2 separate regions of the Homo sapiens genome follow, and region 1 is linked to region 2. Evidence: promoter capture Hi-C in 16 types of primary human blood cells and fetal thymus (Javierre and others, 2016). All regions are on one chromosome and are shown on one strand. Each heading gives the region's core, a stretch centred on a gene start or on the middle of the fragment in contact. The rest is flanking DNA. Distances are from core to core; before and after follow the strand shown.

Region 1 (3,961 bases), core at 1,062-3,561, 330 kb after region 2:
GCTAATTTTTTTTTATTTTTTAGTAGAGACGGGGTTTCACTGTGTTAGCCAGGGTGGTGTCGATCTCCTGACCTCATGATCTGCCCGCCTCGGCCTCCCAAAGTGCTGGGATTACAGGCGTGAGCCACTGCGCCCGGCCTCCAAATATTTATTTGAATTACTGGGGTATCTCAAAGCAAAGAGAGAACAGAAGGATTAGAAAACCTATTTAGTGGCCGGGTGCAGTGGCTCACGCCTGTAATCCCAGCACTTTGGGAGGCCGAGGCGGGCGGATCACGAGGTCAGGAGATCAAGACCATCCTGGCTAACAGGGTGAAACCCCGTCTCTACTAAAATACAAAAAAAAAAAATTAGCTGGGGGCGGTGGTGGGCGCCTGTAGTCCCAGCTACTCGGGAGGCTGAGGCAGGAGAATGGCGTGAACCCGGGAGGCGGAGCTTGCAGTGAGCCGAGATAGGCCACTGCAGTCCGGCCTGGGCGAAAGAGCGAGACTCTGTCTCAAAAAAAAAAAAAAAGAAAAAGAAAAAAAAAAAGAAAACCTATTTAGTGGCCAGGCACAGTGGCTCATGCTTGCAATCCCAGAACTTTGGGAAGCTGAGGCAGGTGGATCACCTGAGGTCCTGAGCTCAAGACCAGCCTGGCCAACATGGTGAAACCCCGTCTCTACTAAAAATACAAAAAATTAGCTGGGCATGGTGGCAGATGGCTGTAATCCCAGCTACTTGGGAGGCTGAGGCAGGATCACTTGAACCCGGGAGGTGGAGGGTGCAGTGAGCCAAGATTGCGCCACTGCACTCCAGCCTGGGCCACAAGAGTGAAACTATGCCTCGAAAACAAAACAAAACCAAAAAATACCAGAAAACCTATTTAGTGAAATAGTGAAATAATACATGAAAACTCACCAAGTCTAGCAAGAGAGGTAGATATCCAGATATAGGAGGCCCAGGTATCCCCAAACAAATACAATGCAAAAAGGTATTCTCCATGGCATATTTATAGTCCACTGCCATAAATCAAAGACAAAGAGAATTCTAAAAACAGCAAAGAGGAAAAAAAAAAATTCAGCAAAGAGAAAAGCATCTAGTCACCTATAAAGGAACCCCCATCAGACTTACAGCAGGTTTCTCAGTAGGAAGCTTACAGACCCAGAGAAAAGAGAAGAGAAAAGAGAATAATATATTCATTGGAGATAAGAGAATGATATATTCAAAATGCTGAAGGAAAAACTCCCAGCCAAAGTGTATTAGTCTGATCTTGCACTGCTGTAAAGAACTATCTGAGCCTGGGTAATTTATAAAGAAAAGAGATTAAATTGGCTCATGGTTCTTCAAGCTGCATAGGAAGCATGGCTGGGGAGGCCTCAGGAAACTTACAATCATGGCAGAAGGCAAAGAGGAAGGAGAAGGAGGCACATCTTACAGGGTCGGAGCAGGAGGAAGAGAGTGAAGGCGAAAATGCTACACACTTTTAAACAACCACATCTCATGAGAAGTCACTCACTATCATGAGAAAAGCAAGGAGGAAGTTCATGTTCATCCCCATGATCCAGTCACTTCCCACTAGGCCTCACCTCCAACACTGAAGATTACAATTTGACATGAAATTTGGGCAGGGACACAAATCCAAACCATATCACAAAGATACTATAATCAGCAAAATTATCCTTCATAAATGAAGGAGAAATAAAGTCTTCTCCAGACGAGCAAAAGCTGAGGGAATTCATTACTACTAGACCAGACCTACAAGAAATGTTCAAGAAGTCCTAAACCTGAAAGTGAAAGGATGACATTTATGATCATAAAAACACACACAAATAGAAAACTCAGTGGTAAAGCAACACACAAATAAGGAAGAGAAAGGACTCAAATGGTACTACCATAAAAAGACAGCAAACCACTATAACAAACAATAAGAGAAAGGAACAAAGAATATATAAAGCAACCAGAAAACCGTTAATATGACAGAAAAAAGGCTCACATATAATTAATAACTGCATGTAAATGGAGTTAAGCTCTCCTCTTAAAAGATACAGGCTGGCTAAAAGGATAAAAAACATAATCCGACTACGTGCTGCCCACAAAAAATGCACTTTCCCTGTAAAGAGACATACAGACTGAAAGTTAAAGCATGGAAAAAGATATTCCATGCAAATAGAAACCAAATGAGCAGAGAGAACAAAAGGATTAGAAAATCTATTTAGTGGCCAGGCACGGTGGCTCATGCTTGTAATCCCAGCACTTTGGAAAGCTGAGATGGGTGGATCACCTGAGGTCAGGAGCTCAAGACCAGCCTGGCCAACATGGTGAAACCCTGTCTCTACCAAAAATGCAAAAAATTAGCTGGGCATGGTAGCAGATGGCTATAATCCCAGCTACTTGGGAGGCTGAGGCAGGATCACTTGAACCCAGGAGGCGGAGACTGCAGTGAGCCAAGATTGCGCCACTGCACTCCAGCCTGGCAGCGGCGTGATCTCCGCTCACTACAACCTCTGCATTCCAGGTTCAAGCGATTCTTCTGCCTCAGGCTCCTGAGTAGCTATACTTAGATAAAACAGACTTTAAGTCAAAAATAGTAAAAAAAAAAAAAAAAAAAAAAAAAAAAAAAAAGACAAAGAAGGTCATTATCTAATGGCAAAGGAATCAAACCAGCAAAAAGATGTAACAATTCTAAACATATATGAACCTGACACTGGAGCACCCAGATTCCTAAAGCAAGTTATTACTAGATCTAGAGAGAGAGAGACTCCAGTGCAATCGTACTGGGCAAACTCACCCCACTCTCAGCATTAGACAGATCATCTAGACAGAAAATTAACAAAGAAACATTGCATTTAAACCAGACTTTAGACCAAATGGACCTAACAGATGTTTGTAGAACATTTTATCCAACAGCTGCAGAATACATATTTTTCTCAACAGCACATGAAACATTCATTCTTCAGAAAAGACCATATGTTAGGCCACAAAATCATTTTCAACAAATTTTTAAAAATCAAAATCATATCAAGTATGTTCTCGAACTACAATGGAATATTAGAAATCAGTATCAAGGGGAACTTTGGAAGTGACAGAAATACATGAAAATTAAATAACATGGTCTCAAATGACCATGGGTCAATAAGGAAATTAAAATGAAAATCAAAAAATTTCTTGGAACAAATGAAAATGGAAACTACAACATACCAAAACCTATGTGATACAACAAAAGCAGTGCTTTTGTATCACAAAACCTATGTGATTTTTTGTATCACAAAACCTGTGTGATACAACAAAAGCAGGACATGAATACTAAGTTTATGGCAATAAACGCCTACATCCAAAAAGTAAAAAGATTTCAAACAATCTAATGATTTACCTCAATGAACCAGAAAGAACAAGCCAAAGCCAAACCCAAAATTAGCAGAAGGAAACGACTAATAAAGATCAAAGCAGAACTAAATGAAATAGAGACTTTTAAAAAAGGCAGAGGATCAACAAAATGAAAAGCTTGTTCTTCAAAAAGATAAACAAAATTGATAAACTACTAGTTAGGCTAACAACAACAAAAAAGAAGACCTAAATAAAATCAGAAATGAAAAAGGAGACATTACAACCATTCTCATAGAAATAAATAGACCATCAGAGAATATTATGAACAGCTATGCACCCACAAACTGGAAAACCTAGAGGAAATGGATAAATTTCTGGAAACATACAACCTATCAAAGAAAAATCCAGGAAAAAATAGAAAACCTGAACAAATTAATAATGAGTAGCAAGAACGAATCAGTAATAAAAAGTCTCCCCACAAAGAAAAGCCCAGAACCAGATGGATGCACACTGAATTCTACCAAATGTATAAAGACCTAATACCAATCCTCCTGAAACTACTCCAAAATACTGAAGAGGTGGCAATTTTCCCTAACTCATTCTAGAAAGCTGGTGCTACCCTGATACCAAAACCAGACAAGGACACAGCAAAAAA
Region 2 (3,569 bases), core at 910-3,409:
GTGTTCTACAATGCTTGCTTTCATCAGAATATTTTAACGATGAACCAACTTTATCTCCAGAGTAGATATCCAAATCACCTGTCAACGACAAAGAAACCATGAAAGATTACCACAACAATATATCACAAAATATCTGGCACTGGCCATAAGTCTAAATAATACTATTTTTAAAATCTTCTCTCTCAAATTTTTTTTTCTTTTTTTTTCTTTGAGACGGAGTCTCGCTCTGTCACCCAGGCTGGAGTGCAGTGGCGCAATCTCGGCTCACTGCAAGCTCCGTCTCCCGGGTTCACCCCATTCTCCTGCCTCAGCCTCCTGAGTAGCCGGGACTACAGGAGCCCGCCACCACACCCGGCTAATTTTTTGTATTTTTTTTAGTAGAGACGGGGTTTCACCGTGTTAGCTAGGATGGTCTCCATCTCCTGACCTCGTGATCCGCCCGCCTCGCCTCCCAAAGTGCTGGGATTACAGGCGTGAGCCACCGCGCGCAGCCTATTTTTTTCTTTTTTGAGACTGAGTTTCGCTCTTGTTGCCCAGGCTGGAGTGTAGTGGCGCCATCTCGGCTCACTGCAACCTCTGCCTCCCGGGTTCAACCGATTCTCCTGCCTCAGCCTTCCCAGCAGTTGGGATTACAGGCGCCCGCCACCATGCTCGGCTAATTTTTTGTATCTTTAGTAGAGACGGGATTTCACTATGTTGGCCTGAGTGGTCTCGAACTCCTGACCTCAGGTGATTCGCCTGCCTCGGCCTCCCAAAGTGCTGGGATTACAGGCGTGAGCCACCGCGCCCAGCCTCAAATTAAATTTTTGAAACCCCCAAATATACAAAATACCGGCTTACCTGGGGAGGTTAGAGTTCTTCTCTTATACTTAGACTGATAAAAATTTGAAAAATCATACTAAAAAAAAAAAGAAAAGATTTAATTTGTATACTAAAAATCAATTTACTGTCTCAAAATATTTCCCCACAAATTATGTATTAATTACAAAGGTTAGAGTGGAGAAATCTTGTAGACACCATCTTAACCAAGTGATCAAAACTAATATCATCAATAATGTGACAAACCAACGTCATGTTCCTCCCCACAGCAGGCCACACATCACTCATCTCATGCTCCTGCCAAAAATGCATAATCAATCTAACGAAGAAGCATCTATAAGATAAACCCAAACGGAGAAACAATCCAATAAATAATTCTTACACTTCTCAAAAAAAAAACAACCTTACAGAAAACAAAGGCTGTGAACCTGTTCCAGATTAAAGGCAACAAAAAGGACAATCAAATACAATCAATGCTCGTTCTTGGGTCGGATCTGCACTAGGAAAAAATTTTCCTATAAAAGGTTTTATCGAGATAATTGCTGAAATTTCTTATGAACTCTAGATTACCAAATATTATACCAATTCTAAATTTCCTGAAAATATTACTGTGGTTATTAAAAGACAACGTCCTTATGCTTAGGAAAAATGCACAAGTTATTTCTATTCAGAGGTAAAGGGGCATGATGCCTGCAAATCACCCTCAAATAGTTCAAAGGGAAAAAATGCGTTTGTAGGGAGGGAAGGGGAGAGAACGAATGGTAAAGCCAATGTGGCAAAATATTAATTTGTGAATGCAAGTGAGGGTACAAGGGAATTCTTGGTAATACTGCAGCAACTTTTGAGTAAGTCCGAAATTATTTCGAAATAAGCCGCTTTTAAAAAGCAATTCAATTGTTTTCACAACTCCACTCACATCACTGCAAAAAAAAGCTGAATAGCACTTTCTCCAACACCACACCATGCCCAGTATACCAGGAACACAGAGGCATAGGTGAAGCGGCACCCCCGCACCCCCGCAGCGCAACGCCCGCCCCTCCCGCCTGCTTCCACGAGGCCCAAGCCGCAGCCACGGCGGGAGTGCCGGGGCCGGGACCAGAGCCGCTGCGCGCCCCCAGGCCGGCTGCGCGGGGCACGGAGCGGGCCGCCCCCCAGCAGCAGGAGCCCACCCGCGGACCTCAGGCGGCGGCTTCACCTCGTCGGGGCAGCTGCCCCCGAGTCCGTAGCGGCTTTTGAGACTCTCCACTACTAAATCCTGCCCCGGTGGCTTGACGACCCTCGGCTCCATAGCACACAGCAACCGTACCAGTCTCCCCGGGAACCGCGTTCATCAAACCCGCGGCGCTACGCGGCCGCAGTGCGTCACGACGTGCCAGACCCCGCCCCCCCGAGGCACGCACGGCGGCAGGGAAAGGGCGGGGCGGGGCGACCCGGAGACTGCAGCCCGGCTTGTCAGCGCGTCCTCCAAGTTTCTCGTGCTAGCACTACACACCTCGTAACTGAGTAGTATTGCATCTCCCCGCGATAGTCCTGCCCCGGCTGCCTGGGTGCCACGGGTTGAGGGGCACCGAGGCCCCGCACCTGCCTGCAGCGCTCCGCTCCAGCTCCATTTAACCTGTTAAGTTTGGTGTGCGTTGCGCTCACCACATAGACCGGTCGTTCCATCAGAAGTGACCTTTGCTAACTGCCATATAAAAGAAAAACCAAGAGTATATCTGAGCCGGGAGTGGTGGCGCGCGTGTAGTCCCGGCTGCTAAGGAGGCTGAGGCGGGAGCATTGCTTTGAGCCTGAGAGTTACATCTATCTTGGGTAACATAGCAAGACTCCCATCTCTTAAAGTTAAAAAAAAAAAAAAAAAGGGAAAGCTGAGCATAGACATTGCAGATTACCTCACTTTCCCTGTGTTCCATATGGGGTATAACAGGGTATTAAAAAGAATAGTTAGAATGTAAGCACCCTGGAAAAAAAACTTTTTTTTTTTGAAAAGAAAAAAGCTTTTGCCAATACCTACAACAGTGCTAACCATAGTACATAGTATACATCAACCTGAAAACCTATGTTAAACAAAACTGACTGAGGGGAACTGTACAACCACTTCATTTTTCTCATTCATAAAATTACAGTGGTGTAATCTTTTACTTTCTAAATTGTGACTGTCAGCTGCATCTCTGGACTAACAACTCCTAAATTCTCTGGATTAAAGTTCCCAAATGCCCAAGTTTTATAAAATCTGTACTTCAGCAGTTATTATCTGAAAATTACTTAGGCCATACTTTTTGCCATAAAGTACCACTTAAGATGTACAAATAATGAATTTTATTCTATCTTTAAGCAGATTTTAATGAGACAACATAAAATCCAGTTTAAAAGGAAAGATACATATTATCGTGGGTTTAGACCACATCAGTGATTAAATAACAAAGAGAAATCAAAGTCCTTTCCTGAAATGTGACACAAAGACTTTCTCATAAATGCCACAAGCCACTTTTAAGCATCTTTGGAATACTAATACGGGAAAAGTCAGTTTACATGTCATTTTGTCAAATTTTTGGTCAAAGTTTTTAAAGCTTTTTAATTTGTAACTTTAGTGCTTTAGGAAAGCATACAAATCTGTAAAAAGTCTCTTAAAAAGCACTTGCATTAACTTAAGAATTTATTCTAAAATCATGACGAAGGCATCAACTGTCTCAGCTGAAAAGTTACAACACACTTTACATCAGTTTATATTACATAGATTTCCAAATAAGCCA

What was found. The method cuts DNA at HindIII sites, captures the fragments that hold promoters and counts their contacts. A CHiCAGO score of 5 or more calls a contact.
Region 1: a contact is called between a fragment that was not itself captured here and the fragment with the promoter of CCDC138 in region 2, in 1 of 17 cell types (naive CD8 T cells). The highest score is 5.7, in naive CD8 T cells.

The regions. Positions count from the first base shown.
Region 1 is chr2:108,458,389-108,462,349 of GRCh38, reverse strand. The region is part of intron 4 of GCC2 (GRIP and coiled-coil domain containing 2); the gene reads right to left. Among named protein-coding and RNA genes, the nearest start is that of GCC2, 11 kb to the right of the region's middle. RefSeq lists an enhancer at 1,307-1,376. The HindIII fragment of the contact is 2,349 bases long and covers 1,137-3,485 here.
Region 2 is chr2:108,785,361-108,788,929 of GRCh38, reverse strand. It overlaps CCDC138 (coiled-coil domain containing 138), which reads right to left and starts at 2,159. Exons shown (of 15, transcript NM_144978.3): 1 at 2,015-2,159; 2 at 841-898; 3 at 1-78. The coding sequence starts at 2,107. RANBP2 (RAN binding protein 2) reads right to left here. Exons shown (of 29, transcript NM_006267.5): 29 at 3,121-3,569. RefSeq lists a silencer at 1,761-2,350. The HindIII fragment of the contact is 5,748 bases long and covers 1-2,815 here.